Regions from separate parts of the Homo sapiens genome. Here regions 2, 3, 4 and 5 are each linked to region 1. The links are contacts of gene promoters, found by promoter capture Hi-C in blood cells and fetal thymus (Javierre and others, 2016). All regions are on one chromosome and are shown on one strand. Each heading gives the region's core, a stretch centred on a gene start or on the middle of the fragment in contact. The rest is flanking DNA. Distances are from core to core; before and after follow the strand shown.

What was found. The method cuts DNA at HindIII sites, captures the fragments that hold promoters and counts their contacts. A CHiCAGO score of 5 or more calls a contact.
Region 2: a contact is called between a fragment that was not itself captured here and the fragment with the promoter of NHLRC1 in region 1, in 7 of 17 cell types (neutrophils, M2 macrophages, monocytes and 4 more). The highest score is 13.5, in neutrophils.
Region 3: a fragment that was not itself captured here is called in contact with the fragment with the promoter of NHLRC1 in region 1 in 1 of 17 cell types (total B cells); the score reaches 5.5 in total B cells.
Region 4: a fragment that was not itself captured here is called in contact with the fragment with the promoter of NHLRC1 in region 1 in 8 of 17 cell types (M2 macrophages, M1 macrophages, megakaryocytes and 5 more); the score reaches 13.9 in M2 macrophages.
Region 5: a fragment that was not itself captured here is called in contact with the fragment with the promoter of NHLRC1 in region 1 in 4 of 17 cell types (neutrophils, monocytes, M2 macrophages and 1 more); the score reaches 14.2 in neutrophils.

The regions. Positions count from the first base shown.
Region 1 is chr6:18,121,427-18,124,126 of GRCh38, reverse strand. It overlaps NHLRC1 (NHL repeat containing E3 ubiquitin protein ligase 1), which reads left to right and starts at 1,450. Exons shown (of 1, transcript NM_198586.3): 1 at 1,450-2,700. The coding sequence starts at 1,521. The HindIII fragment of the contact is 6,107 bases long and covers 1-2,146 here.
Region 2 is chr6:17,790,491-17,793,190 of GRCh38, reverse strand. All of the region lies in intron 25 of KIF13A (kinesin family member 13A), which reads left to right. Among named protein-coding and RNA genes, the nearest start is that of NUP153-AS1, 85 kb to the right of the region's middle. The HindIII fragment of the contact is 3,583 bases long and covers 1-2,700 here.
Region 3 is chr6:18,487,988-18,490,687 of GRCh38, reverse strand. No RefSeq gene overlaps it. Among named protein-coding and RNA genes, the nearest start is that of MIR548A1HG, 33 kb to the left of the region's middle. The HindIII fragment of the contact is 1,213 bases long and covers 652-1,864 here.
Region 4 is chr6:17,849,066-17,851,765 of GRCh38, reverse strand. KIF13A (kinesin family member 13A) reads left to right here. Exons shown (of 39, transcript NM_022113.6): 8 at 1,309-1,443; 9 at 2,277-2,389. It overlaps LOC105374953 (a long non-coding RNA gene), which reads right to left and starts at 1,332. Exons shown (of 3, transcript XR_001744007.2): 1 at 1,245-1,332; 2 at 702-791. The HindIII fragment of the contact is 3,444 bases long and covers 1-2,700 here.
Region 5 is chr6:17,771,887-17,774,586 of GRCh38, reverse strand. KIF13A (kinesin family member 13A) reads left to right here. Exons shown (of 39, transcript NM_022113.6): 36 at 1,004-1,109; 37 at 2,528-2,679. Among named protein-coding and RNA genes, the nearest start is that of NUP153-AS1, 66 kb to the right of the region's middle. The HindIII fragment of the contact is 5,011 bases long and covers 1-2,700 here.

The DNA.
Region 1 (2,700 bases), core at 201-2,700:
CTGAGATTGGAAAAACTGAACTTAGTGTCATTTGAGGGAATTATTATAATGCAGTGTTTCTCAAACTTGGCTGTACATTATAATCACCTGGGGAGCTTTTATAAATCCCAGCTGTCCAGACCACACCATGGGCCAATTAAACTTTTCGGGTGCGACCCAGGTGTTTACCATGTGCAAAGAAGTTTGAAAATGACTAAAATAGGTAACTCTGAAGTCAAACTGCCTGGCTTCAAATTCCAGGCCAGCCACTTCCTAGCCATGTGACCCTGGGCAAGATATTTGATTTCTATGAATTCTATCAGAAAAAAAGACAATAAAAATAACATATTTTTGTAGGATTGCTATGAGGTTTAAACAAGATAATCTATGTAAATTATTTATTAATTTGCTGCAAAAGTAATCACGGTTTTGCCATTAAAAGTGATGGCAAACACTGCGAATCCTTTTCACCAACCTAACACAATGGGGCAGGCATATGTGAATTCCATAGGCTGGGCACAGTGGCTCACACCAGCACTTTGGGAGGCCAAGGGGTGGGGAGGAATGTGAACAATTTTCACAAGTTCAAGACCAGCCTAGGCAACATAGTGAGACCTCCTCTCTACAAAAAAATTAAAAAATTAGCCTAGTGTGATGGTGCATGCCTGTAGTCCCAGCTACTGAAGTGGGAGGATTGCTTGAGCCTGGGAGATGGAGGCTGCAGTGAGCTGTGATCGTGCCCCTGCACTCCAGCCTGGGTGACAGAGTGAGACTTTGTCTTAAAAAACAAAAAAATGAAGTTCTATGGTAATTATTATTAACTAACAGCTTTCTTATTTCATATTAATTACTCTGCAAGACACTTCCAGCATGGTTGCCCCATCTGACACTCATTCACCTCGTTGATTTTTTTTTGTTGTTGTTGTTGTTCTATAACATTCATTCATGCACAAATTCATTTTACAAGTATGTATTCATCTAACATTGACTTAACTATGAGTATGACAGAAGACACAAAAGAAATGTACACATCTGCCTCACCTCCCTTGGAGTTTATCTTCTCTAGTGTGTTCGTGTTTTCCGGTTCAGATCATAAGCATCATGAGCTAAGGGACCATGTTTTATGCCCGGACAGCCGTAGCACCCGGCGCTGCGGATTGGAGACACTGCTAGGCACCCGGGCTGGAAGATTGGGTTCTAGTTCTTGTTTTGCCGCTTACAGGCTGGGTGACAGGGAGCAATCCTGTTGTCCTCAATAGGTGTGTTTCCTCATCTGAAAGTGTACACAATCCATCCATGACTGCTGTGACGATTACAGGTCTACACAACGCGCATGTGGATTTGTCTTGCAAACGTCCACCATCAGGCCCTCAGGAAACAGTGCCGCGCGTGCCCACCAAGGGGCAGCAGATCGCAGTGCAGAGGCCCGCGGCGCTCGACGTCAGGGCGCACGTCCCACCCCGTGACCATGACTGTGACCGTGACCGAGAGCGTCGCTGGGGCACGGCCAGGCGGCGCGGCGGGAGTGCACAGGACGCGCCATGGCGGCCGAAGCCTCGGAGAGCGGGCCAGCGCTGCATGAGCTCATGCGCGAGGCGGAGATCAGCCTGCTCGAGTGCAAGGTGTGCTTTGAGAAGTTTGGCCACCGGCAGCAGCGGCGCCCGCGCAACCTGTCCTGCGGCCACGTGGTCTGCCTGGCCTGCGTGGCCGCCCTGGCGCACCCGCGCACTCTGGCCCTCGAGTGCCCATTCTGCAGGCGAGCTTGCCGGGGCTGCGACACCAGCGACTGCCTGCCGGTGCTGCACCTCATAGAGCTCCTGGGCTCAGCGCTTCGCCAGTCCCCGGCCGCCCATCGCGCCGCCCCCAGCGCCCCCGGAGCCCTCACCTGCCACCACACCTTCGGCGGCTGGGGGACCCTGGTCAACCCCACCGGACTGGCGCTTTGTCCCAAGACGGGGCGTGTCGTGGTGGTGCACGACGGCAGGAGGCGTGTCAAGATTTTTGACTCAGGGGGAGGATGCGCGCATCAGTTTGGAGAGAAGGGGGACGCTGCCCAAGACATTAGGTACCCTGTGGATGTCACCATCACCAACGACTGCCATGTGGTTGTCACTGACGCCGGCGATCGCTCCATCAAAGTGTTTGATTTTTTTGGCCAGATCAAGCTTGTCATTGGAGGCCAATTCTCCTTACCTTGGGGTGTGGAGACCACCCCTCAGAATGGGATTGTGGTAACTGATGCGGAGGCAGGGTCCCTGCACCTCCTGGACGTCGACTTCGCGGAAGGGGTCCTTCGGAGAACTGAAAGGTTGCAAGCTCATCTGTGCAATCCCCGAGGGGTGGCAGTGTCTTGGCTCACCGGGGCCATTGCGGTCCTGGAGCACCCCCTGGCCCTGGGGACTGGGGTTTGCAGCACCAGGGTGAAAGTGTTTAGCTCAAGTATGCAGCTTGTCGGCCAAGTGGATACCTTTGGGCTGAGCCTCTACTTTCCCTCCAAAATAACTGCCTCCGCTGTGACCTTTGATCACCAGGGAAATGTGATTGTTGCAGATACATCTGGTCCAGCTATCCTTTGCTTAGGAAAACCTGAGGAGTTTCCAGTACCGAAGCCCATGGTCACTCATGGTCTTTCGCATCCTGTGGCTCTTACCTTCACCAAGGAGAATTCTCTTCTTGTGCTGGACACAGCATCTCATTCTATAAAAGTCTATAAAGTTGACT
Region 2 (2,700 bases), core at 167-2,666, 330 kb after region 1:
GACAGTCATTTGAACCCAGGAGGCAGAGGCTGCAAGTGAGCCAAGATCATACCACTGCACTCCAGCCTGGGTGACAGAGGAAGGCTGTCTCAAAAAAAATAAAATTAGGATCTTGTCCCCCAGTAGCCTAAAAAAAAATGTGTGTGCTTCATTGAGTCCCCAGTTTACTACCAGATATGAATTAGGAACTGGGAAGAATCACTGTTAAATCTGCCTCCCTCACCGTCATATGTGATCGGGAGCACTCTCCCTATCGTGCCGAGGAGAAAACATTTCTCTATGGAGTCTGAGTGTAAGCCCAGCCAATCTTGAGGATGTTTTCTCTTCTATCTTAGTTTCCTTTTGGCTTCCTGGCTTTCAGGCAAAGTCTCTTCTGAAAGCTGAAAGTCAGTGCACAGACTATTGAACTTCAAGGCAGTAATAGCTTTGTCAGATGCTGCCTGCCTTCTTCAAGCCCAAAATTCCCTCTAGCTCGGAACATCTGTCCACACTTCATTCAGAGTATGAGTGTAGGTGCAAGGACAGGGCTGCTGTGGTTTGGTAGGCTTCTCCACCAGACTTTTCCTTGTGTGTGTGCAGCCCGTGGAGCAGGAAATGGGATTGTAGGTATTCTCATAGCAGTTCAGTCCTTCACTTAGCCATCAACTTCTACGTGGCTGCACGGTCGAAAGAGAACACTAGACTGGGAGTCAGGAAACCTGGGTTCTTAAGTCTAGTTGAGCTTTACTAAATGGTTATCTTGGCTGGAAAATTTAAACTTTGAGTTCCCCTTTTCTCCAAACTGATGAAGTAGACTTAATAATCCTCTGAGGTCCCTGTCCACAATAAAATTTTGTGGCTTAATAAATCTCTGGTGTTCAATAAAAACATCGGCTGTGTGCTCCAAACTGTGACCTGCAGTATAAGTATATGGGTCATCAACTAACTAAATGTTCTCATTTGAGGAACATTCCAAGGATCAACTATTTGCTGCTTTTTTTTTTTTTTTTTTTTTGAGTCTCACTCTGTCCCCTAGGCTGGAGTGCAATGGTGCAATCTTGGCTCACTGTAACCTCTGCCTCCTGGGTTCGAGCGATTCTCCTGCCTCAGTCTCCAGAGTAGCTGGGATTACGGGCACCTGCCAACGCACCTGTCTAATTTTTGTATTTTTAGTAGAGATAGGGGTTTCATCATGTTGGCCAGGCTGGCCTTGAACTCCTGACCTCATGATCCACCCACCTCGACCTCCCAAAGTGCTGGGATTACAGGCGTGAGCCACTGCGCTCAGTACTTTTTTTTTTTTTTTTTTTGAGACAGAGTCTCTCTCTCTGTCACCCAGGCTGGAGTGTGGTGGCACAATCTCGGCTCACTGCATCTTCCATCTCCCTGGTTCAAGTGATTCTCTTGCCTCAGCCTCCCGAGTAGCTGGGATTACAGGCCCGCACCACCACACCCAGCTAATTTTTGTATTTTTAGTAGAGACGGGTTTCACCATGTTGGCCAGGCTGGTCTTGCATTCCTCACCTCAAATGATCCGCCTGCCTGGTCCTCCCAAAGTACTGGGATTACACGTGTGAGCCACCACACCCAGCAACTGTTCACATTTTTTAAAAAACAGCTCTACCTCTGAGTTAAAACTGATTTTTGTCAAATTGTAAACTTTAAAATATTAGCCTTTCCCCAGTGCTATGTGCTCTTTAAGAGCATAGTGCTTAAAATTTGGACTGTAACTATTTTAAAGGCTTTTTTTTTCTTTGCTGCCATGTTCCAGGTCACGTCTGTTAAGTGTTTTTGTTGTTGTCACAGTGTTTTAGAATTATTCTGATGCAAAAAAAAAAAAAAGAATTATTCTCATGCAGTAGCTGAAACCAATGCAGAATATGCTGGTTTTGCAACAATTTCATGTCATGAATGCTTAGGCCAATTTTCAGTTAATAGAACTACCTCCATAGTTTAAAAAGTTATGATAAATTAGAGCCATTTGTTCTTTTACATTAATAGGAAGCATTAGTTCAAGATAAATTACTTCAGGATTAGGATTACATTTAATAAGTTAGTCATATAACTGATAATGGTGGTTACCAAACTAAAAAAAAAAAAAAAGCAGTTCATTTTGAAGTATATATGAAAATAATTTTGACTATATTCTTAAAGCACTTTTTAGTCATAAATCTAAATTAAGGGATTCTAGGTTCTCGTTTATAAGGAAAATTTTTTTCTACCAAGACCCTTTTGTTTTCAACGTGATTACTTTGTTTTGCCAAATGTTTTTGCAAAAATTGTTACTTTGTTTATTTATTTTACAATGTTGCCCTGTGTTTGGGACAGTTATGATTCTTTCAAGTGATTGTTATGGTCAATAGAGAGTACTGACCAATCCTTATATTCCAAATAGTATGCTATTGCTTTTATTTCAACAGTGTAGTACAGACCCTTGTATGTATATAGCCTGAGGTTGCCCCAGCTTTCCCCTGGGATGATTGCATCAGGGAAGACAGCTGAGGTTGGAGACCTCAGACATGGCTTACAGTTCTGACCTGCCATTATCTGTGTGGTCCTAAGGTTAAATCATTTCATCCTTTAAGGCTTAAAGGATGTTTGCCTCATTGCTCAAACTGAGATTGGGCAAGAGAATGTTCCCTGTAGTTTTGCCACTCTGTCTTCCTAAGCCTATCTCAAATCTCAGTCAAATAGTCTACCCCAAAATACATATCAGCTGTC
Region 3 (2,700 bases), core at 9-2,508, 370 kb before region 1:
CCACAAAACTATCAACATAATTTTTCTCACACGTAAGTTTCATCTCGTCACTACCTTGCTCAAACTTTAGCAATGCCCTAGTTATCTTGGAGATAAAAGCTGATTTCTTCAAGTCACTTCAGGATTTGGTCCTCTCCTACCTGTCCATCCATCCTTACATCCCCCCTACTCTTTATACTCCAGTGATTCTAAACAACTTTGGACTAAGCAAACTTGCTGGACTCTTGCATACCTCCAAAGATGTTCCTCTCCCTAGAATGCATCTACTCCCTGGTCTGTTCCCAGTCTTCAGGACTGCCAAATATTCAGTTGACTTGCCCAGTTTCATTCGGCTTCCCACTCACCAGCCAGGACACGTTAGTCCATTTTTTATCTGTGCTCTGTTTCTTCAATTGGCCAAGGTCAGCAAAAGTTTGAGGAGGATTTAGTTCATTTTCCCTATTCCACCATCCCAAGCAAGAAAACCTTAAGGAGCACCCCATAGGGTGGAATCTGACAATGAAGATGACCAAGTGATAGGCAGAACAAGGAGGCAGAAAGGAACTGGATTCTTGGTGACTTTGGGTGCCTGAGTCAAGCTTGCCTGGAGCCTACTCTATATCAAGACTTTTCTGTTTCATCAGCCAACAACTTCCCTGTATTGTTTAAGCTTGTTTGAACTGGGTTTTCTATCTCTTGCAACCCAGAGGAGCTTATCTGATGCAACAGAAATTAATATTATTCTCTTTGAAAGACATAGATTTCCTTAAAATAAATGGTAAAATAATATAAACTTGCATGCACCAAAGGAGCTCAGTAAATGCACCACTGATTAGAGTCAGGGAGCTTGAATTCTACATGAAAATTTGCCTGCAGCTTCTTGAGGCCCTAACCTCTCATGCTTTATTCTTCTATCTGTAGATTGACTCTACTCCTACCAACTCATTCCTTAATGTATAACATAGTTGCTAGTTATAAAGTCTGGAAAGAGTTCTATTGTTCCTTTACATGTGCAGTTATTTAAAAACATTTATTATTTATTGAGCACTTACTATGTGCTTGGCAGTAGGTGTCAAACACAGAGAAAAACCTGAGATATGTTCTAGGCCAAAGTTTGGCAAACCGCAGCTCAGGGGCCAAATGTGGCCCCTCTCTTGTTTGCATAAATAAAGTTTTATTGAAACACAACCGTACTGACTCATTTATGTGTTGACTGGCTGCTTTCACACTACAACAGCACAGTTGGGTTGTAACCACAAAGACCGTATGGCCTACAAAGCCTTAAGTACCTACGATACAGCACTTTACAGAAAAAGTTTGCCAACCTCTGTTCTAGGCTATTTACCACAGCTAAATAAACCTCCCTTCCCTGAAAAACTGTAGCAAAGTATCTTTCACTCACTTTGGTGTAATGCAGACCCAAATGTCAAATTACTTCCCTAGAAAATAAGTATAGGAGGGAGAAAGAAAAAAATTTTAAACATAAATTCAAATGAGTACACTTTTAGTTTCCAGAATTAATTGGTACCACAGATAAGATTCAGGCCCTGTGAACCATCATTAAGGTCTTCCTTGAGAGAGGAGGGGCAGAAACTGTCCTAGCTGGTGTCAGTGAAAATCCAAGTGCAGGCAATATGACTCATTACAAAGAAAAGAGGTTCGCTTGGCTTTTTTTCTCCTTCATCCTTTCCCCTTGCACAGTTTACTTCTCAGAACAAGATTCTGGTTTCAGAAACTATAGGCAGAGACTAAGATAGATAGATAGATAGATAGATAGATAGATAGACAGACCAGCTTATTTCTAAGTATTAATGCAAAGGCTAAAATCTAGAAATTAGGTTTCTGATTTTTTTTGTATTGGTCTATGATGACTCACAGGTAAGCTTCTAGACTAAATAAACTGTTCAGAATAGTTCCCATTCCCATTGTGCATTCAAGGTTTTCATAAAGCTCTTTTGCAGTACCAGGAGGATTAACACCATAATCACTTACATTGTTATACCGTGGAGTGGAAATACCACAGGCCATTGAGGCCAACAGTTGCCTGTTTCAACTTGTTTTGCCACTTACAATGTGCGCAACACAGAAGAATGTATTTTTCTCCCTCTCCTCTGAAACGCAGTTTCCTTAAGAGTATGTGGAATATGAATCCTCGTTTTCTAGAGTTGTTAGGGAATTGGATGAGGTCACGTGGGAAAGCATCTAACACCGTTACAGGCACAGAGCTGTGTTTCCATAAACATGGTTTATTTCCTTCTCCCTATATCCTTCTGTATCTGAGCAAATGAAAAGCATGCCCTAGTCTGAACAAGAGAATCACAACTTCCTAATATTCAGAGTCTTTCCTGTGTTAAATGGAAAACAAAAGTTACAAGTTGAGAGATACAAAGAGATTTAATTGTGTTCCGGGACTTTCTCCTCATTACCTCAACTCCCAACCCCAAGATCAAAGATGAGAATAGGTTTCTATTTGTACATGAACAGAAAGCTGCAGGCATCAATCAGTAGTAACCACTAATGGAAACTTGGCCACTAGTACCCTCTCTGAGTCTGTCTGACACATTTGGATCTAATTGGCAGTCTGCTTTAGAACAGCCAAAAAATATATTGTCATACACATCATGGATCAAAACGGAGGCAAACTTGCTCACAGCCACAGGGTTTTGGTTGCCAAAATTAGGCAAGCAGGTCTGTGGGTTTTGTTTCAAACAGGTAAATGCT
Region 4 (2,700 bases), core at 149-2,648, 270 kb after region 1:
GTGAAGGTTTTACAGTATGGCCGGGAGGCCCAGTGTTTTCAGGTTGCTGCATATTTTCACTAATACTACTCTGTTAAAACTGTTCTCCCAATGATGCCAGTGACATCCTTCTAGACATGTGGTATTCTAAACAGTATTTGGCAGTTAGTACAGCCCTTTCTTTTTGGCAGGGTCTCCTGCCTTGGTTTCTGTCACTTCTGGCTCTCCTGTTTTTCTGAATCACTCCTCTTGCCATTGACCGGCCTGTTTTACTTTATTTACTCTTTGACTTATATGCCTTGTTAAGATCTGACTCAAGATTCTGCTTCTATTTCTATAGTGATTGCTTTGGAAATCTCATAACACAAACTGCTATCTCTGTTGCTAAAGGATGTGAATGAATGAGTGAATGCACAGAGAAACAAGCAAATCCCTGCACTTACTTTGTGCTGTTTGTGGGATGTGGCTGGCCCATTATCACCCCAGACTTAGTATGGCTAAAACTAATCTGTGCAGTGATTCTCTCCAGCCATTTAAATCAAGGTATATATAGAATTGCTCTAATCGGAAATAGAGCACAGTGATCATTTTAAAAAGGTTTCGATTCTGAAATGAATGGATACTTTTTTGGTCTAAAGGTGCTAACTCAGCTCCTTCACTGAGGTCCCTGGTTCTTAGCTCAGTGTGGTTGAGGTAAGTGTTGATGTTATCCTGTCACTTACTAGTAGGAGCCAGGGTGCTCTATTTGCATCCCAGCTCTACCTCTTACTGGATTTGGGGAAAGTTGCTTGACCTCCACGAACTTCAGCATCCTTGTATGTAAAAGCAAGAAAATAAAGTTCATTTAGCAAATATTTCATAAGATCCCATAGGCTCTAGGCATTCTAGGAGCAAGTGTACAAAGTGGAATAAGGAAAAAACCCTGCCATCAGGGAGCCACAGTATTGGAGGAGGGAGGCAGACAGGCAGGCATCAGCGGGTTGGTAAGCACAGGAGAGTAAGAGTTAAATCAAGTCACTGCTATTATTGATTATCGGAGTGCTCAATAAATATTAGCTATCCCAGGAACCCAAAAAGGAGAAAATAGGGACTCAACTGAGAAAGAAGACAATTGGGAAATGGAAAGAATTAGGGAAACATTTCATACATTACAAAGTCTTGAGTGAGGTGGAAGCTCAAACCATGCTCAATGGAGGAGCGGCAGGGAGGTTTCTATGGAAGGGTGGTGACAAAGGCATCAGAGGAATCATAATTAATACATATACCTGGTGTGCAGGACTACATTCTTGTGTTTTTGCTTATGGTCTTTTCCTTATGCTTTGCCCCTAGGATATTGAGTCATTGATGTCTGAGGGAAATAAGTCTCGAACGGTAGCTGCTACCAACATGAACGAAGAAAGCAGCCGCTCCCATGCTGTGTTCAACATCATAATCACACAGACACTTTATGACCTGCAGTCTGGGGTAAGGGATTAGGCAGAACCTTTTTGGAGTGGGGGTGGAAGAACTGAAAGTGTCCATATAGGTAAAGTCTTTCATGGTTGGGTTCAGTGGCTGAGAATTGTATGTTGGCTCTTCTGCTTACTAGGTGAGCTACTTTGCTTATCATTTAATTTGTTAGGTCTTTCTTTATATTTGACTTTTTAAAAAATTGGATTTTGGCCTGGTGCAGTGGCTCCTGCCTGTAATTCCAGCATTTTGGGAGTCTGAGGCGGGAGGATTGCTTGAGGGCAGAAGTTCATGACCATCTTGTACAATATAGCAACACCCAGACTCTACAAAAACAAAAAAGAAAAATAATTGTATTTCTTGTGCAAAGTCCCTAACAAGTGTGATGACATCACCATACAGCTTTTAATATATATCCTTTCATGCTGAAATTCCCATGGAAACATGTCAGCTTCATAGCCATTGAGGGATATTAAAGAGGACACCACAACCTTTAGCCTAAACCTTTTTTCAAAGGAAGAAGGATTTGACTTGAATGTGCAGAAATCCTCATGTCCTCATATCTCCTCATAGGCATTTTAAATCTCCAGCTTTCTGACTGTATTCCAGAAAGCTGGGTGTACTTGCTACCCAGCTGCAAAACAAAATGCTACATTTCTACGCCTATTTAAATGTTAACTATGAAATTAATTGCTGGTTCAAATAACTCTTCTGACCGTTTAAAAACTTAAGAAATTTGCCATATGAGAGTGGGATGGATTGCTCAATTATAGTGCTAACATATATGTAGATATCCATGTGGTTTTTATTGATAAGTTTTTCTTCTCTCTCTCGTTTCCTATAACTAGAATTCCGGGGAGAAAGTCAGTAAGGTCAGCTTGGTAGACCTGGCGGGTAGCGAAAGAGTATCTAAAACAGGAGCTGCAGGAGAGCGACTGAAAGAAGGCAGCAACATTAACAAGTAAGGTGGCTGGTCCCAGAACAGCCTGGGTGATTTCCTTCTGGAGGGGATTTGTTGCATTATGAGGGTCAGATGGTTCTGATGTACAGGTTGTTTAAAGTCTGTATAGCTTTAGTAAACTGGGCTGAAGAAAAACAACAACAACCTGTGTCTGTTAAGATGTATGAGGTTTTTGGCCAGGCACGGTGGCTCATGCCTGTAATCCCAGTACTTTGGGAAGCCAAGGCGGGCAGATCACCTGAGGTCAGGAGTTTGAGACCAGCCTGGCCAACATGGCAAAACCCCATCTCTACTAAAAAGGCACGGTCACG
Region 5 (2,700 bases), core at 137-2,636, 350 kb after region 1:
GGCCAGGATGGTCTCGAACTTCTGACCTCAGGTGATCGATCCGCCTCGGCCTCCCAAAGTGTTTGGATTACAGGCATGAGCCACCATGCCCAGACAATTGCTATGCACTTTCAGTATTACATTGTTACTTACCATGATAGGTTCCATACCAGGACAGTACCACACATAATTGAATAGATATCTGTGTGTTTATGGGTTTAACTCTAAATGATTGGAGAAGGTGTTACATCCACCATAGCATAATCAAAATTATTTCAATGGGTAAAAGAGGGGATTTAAAATTAAGGACAGATTGCAACATGATCTTATTCAACAAATATTTCTTGAATACATATTATATATGAGTTACTATGCTAGAGACTAGATGATCCAAAAGGTATAAGCACAGATTTATGTCCTTAAGAAGTTTAAAATTTAGTCTTCAGAGGCAATCAACTCCTGATAAGTTGACATAAGATTAAGTAAGCTCGTATGATATGCCAGCGTTTTCTCTGTTTTGTATACCAATACTTTATGCCTCTTTGAAACTTTTAAATCTCAAATATAGGTAGAGTAACCACACTGCCAAATTTGCCTTGGACAGTCTCAGCTGTGCCTTCTACCCAGGCAGAATTACTAATGGAACAGTTGTCCTTTGAGAGTGTTTCAGTTTGGTCATTAAATTATCAAGTCACTCTGGGTATATGCCACATTGCTCAAAGTAGCTACCTCTGGGGAGGAAGGAAGATGAATGGGACCAAAAGATCACACTACATTTGTAATAATTTTATTAAACTTGAGCAAATATAATAAAATATTAACATGTATTCACTCCGGGTATACCTTGGATATGACAGTATTTTTTACGATATTCAGCCCTTTCTGTATATTTGAAATAAATCATAATAAAAATAAAGAAGAGCATATGCTGCCATTAAAAAAAAACAGAAGAAACTCCAACCTGGGCTTTATTTCTTATTTTGGAGTGATTCAATTACAGTTAACCCATATTTTTACCTTGTAGGGTTGGCCAGAGAACCAGTTGGACATGTCTGACTATAGCTCCAGTTACCAAGATGTAGCATGTTATGGAACTTTACCCAGGGATTCTCCTCGAAGGAATAAAGAAGGTAGTGGTGAGATTATTTTGCAGTGATATTTCTTTGTAATTACTTAGAAAAAGTATGAAAAAATGTCTTTCATTAATGGCATATAATAAGATATGAAGCTGATATTCTAGTTAACTAGATGATACAAAACTGTTATTGAATGTAACATATAACATTCACTTATTTGATTTATTTTTGTTTTGTATCCAACATATCACCCAAATAATCATAGACTTTTTGTGTATTACTTTAGAACTTCTGAATCATTTTTTGTCATCATTTCCTGACTTTCAAGTCCAGTTTTGAGACACATACAAATCCTATTATTTTCTACCAGAATATCCAGCTCTGTCATATTTGTGTACTCAAAGGAATTTTTAAAAGAACATGACTTTGATTCATAAAGCAGTTTTCAAAAACGATACCCAAAATGAGTTTGATTCATGGTGACATTATTACCTAAATTATACAGTCTACCAGTGCCTTAATGGGAACAGTATTCTTTGGCCATATATATCGGTTCTGTTACCTTATACCTTATATTAGTAGGTAAAATATAAGGTATATTCGCCATTATACTAACAAATTGGAAAGGGAGGAAAGAGGCCAAAAAGGTAAGAAATGATACAAGCAAGGAAGAAGAATTGTCCTCCCTTAGTCATATATAGCAGGGTGGCCTGAGGGGGAAAAAAAGAGGCTCGCAAGAAAATTTACACAGTATTAATTCATTGAATATTTATTGAGCCTCTACTTTCTGTCTTATAACTATGGAAATAAGATACACAGAAAATGAGATGTTAAATGATAAGGTGCCAAAATGAACATGCAGATAATAAGGGCTGTGAGAATTCAGAGGAATGGAAAATCAGCGTGAGCTGAAATTGGTCTGGTTAGTGGTGCTTAAGCTGGATCTTGAAAAGAGTGTAGAAATTTGCTATCTCACTTTGTTCACACAGACTAGCACTGTAGTAACTCTTTGTGACATCACAGATTTATGTCTATTCTTGCCTACATCTGTTCCATGGTTTTTTGGGGGTTTTTTTGTTTGTTGTTTGTTGTTTGTGGGGTTTTTTTGTTTTGTTTTTAGACAGGGTCTCCCTCTCTCTCTCTTGCCCGGGCTGGAGTGCAGTGGCACCATTATAACTCACTGCAGCCTCAACCCCTGGGGCTCAAGCGATCTTCTCGCCTCAGCCTCCTGAGTAGCAAGTACAACAAGTAGACACCACCATGCCTGGCTATCTGTTTATTTTTTTTTTCACAGACTGGTGTCCCTATGTTGCACAGGGTGGGCATACATCTGTTTTAATGCTTAGCCAAATATTAGCCTATGAATTTCATTGTTCTCCCAGATATTCCCATGGCTGGGTCATTGTCTCAGTTCCTATGTTTTGCTTAAAGTGTTCAGCATCTGTAACCTCATAACTTCTCATCTTCCCTAGGTTGTACATCAGAGACTCCTCATGCCTTAACCGTCAGCCCTTTTAAAGCATTCTCTCCTCAGCCACCAAAGTTTTTCAAGCCCCTAATGCCTGTAAAAGAGGAGCATAAGAAAAGGATAGCCCTGGAAGCAAGGCCTCTTCTAAGCCAGGAGGTAAATGCTTGACTTGTCTGT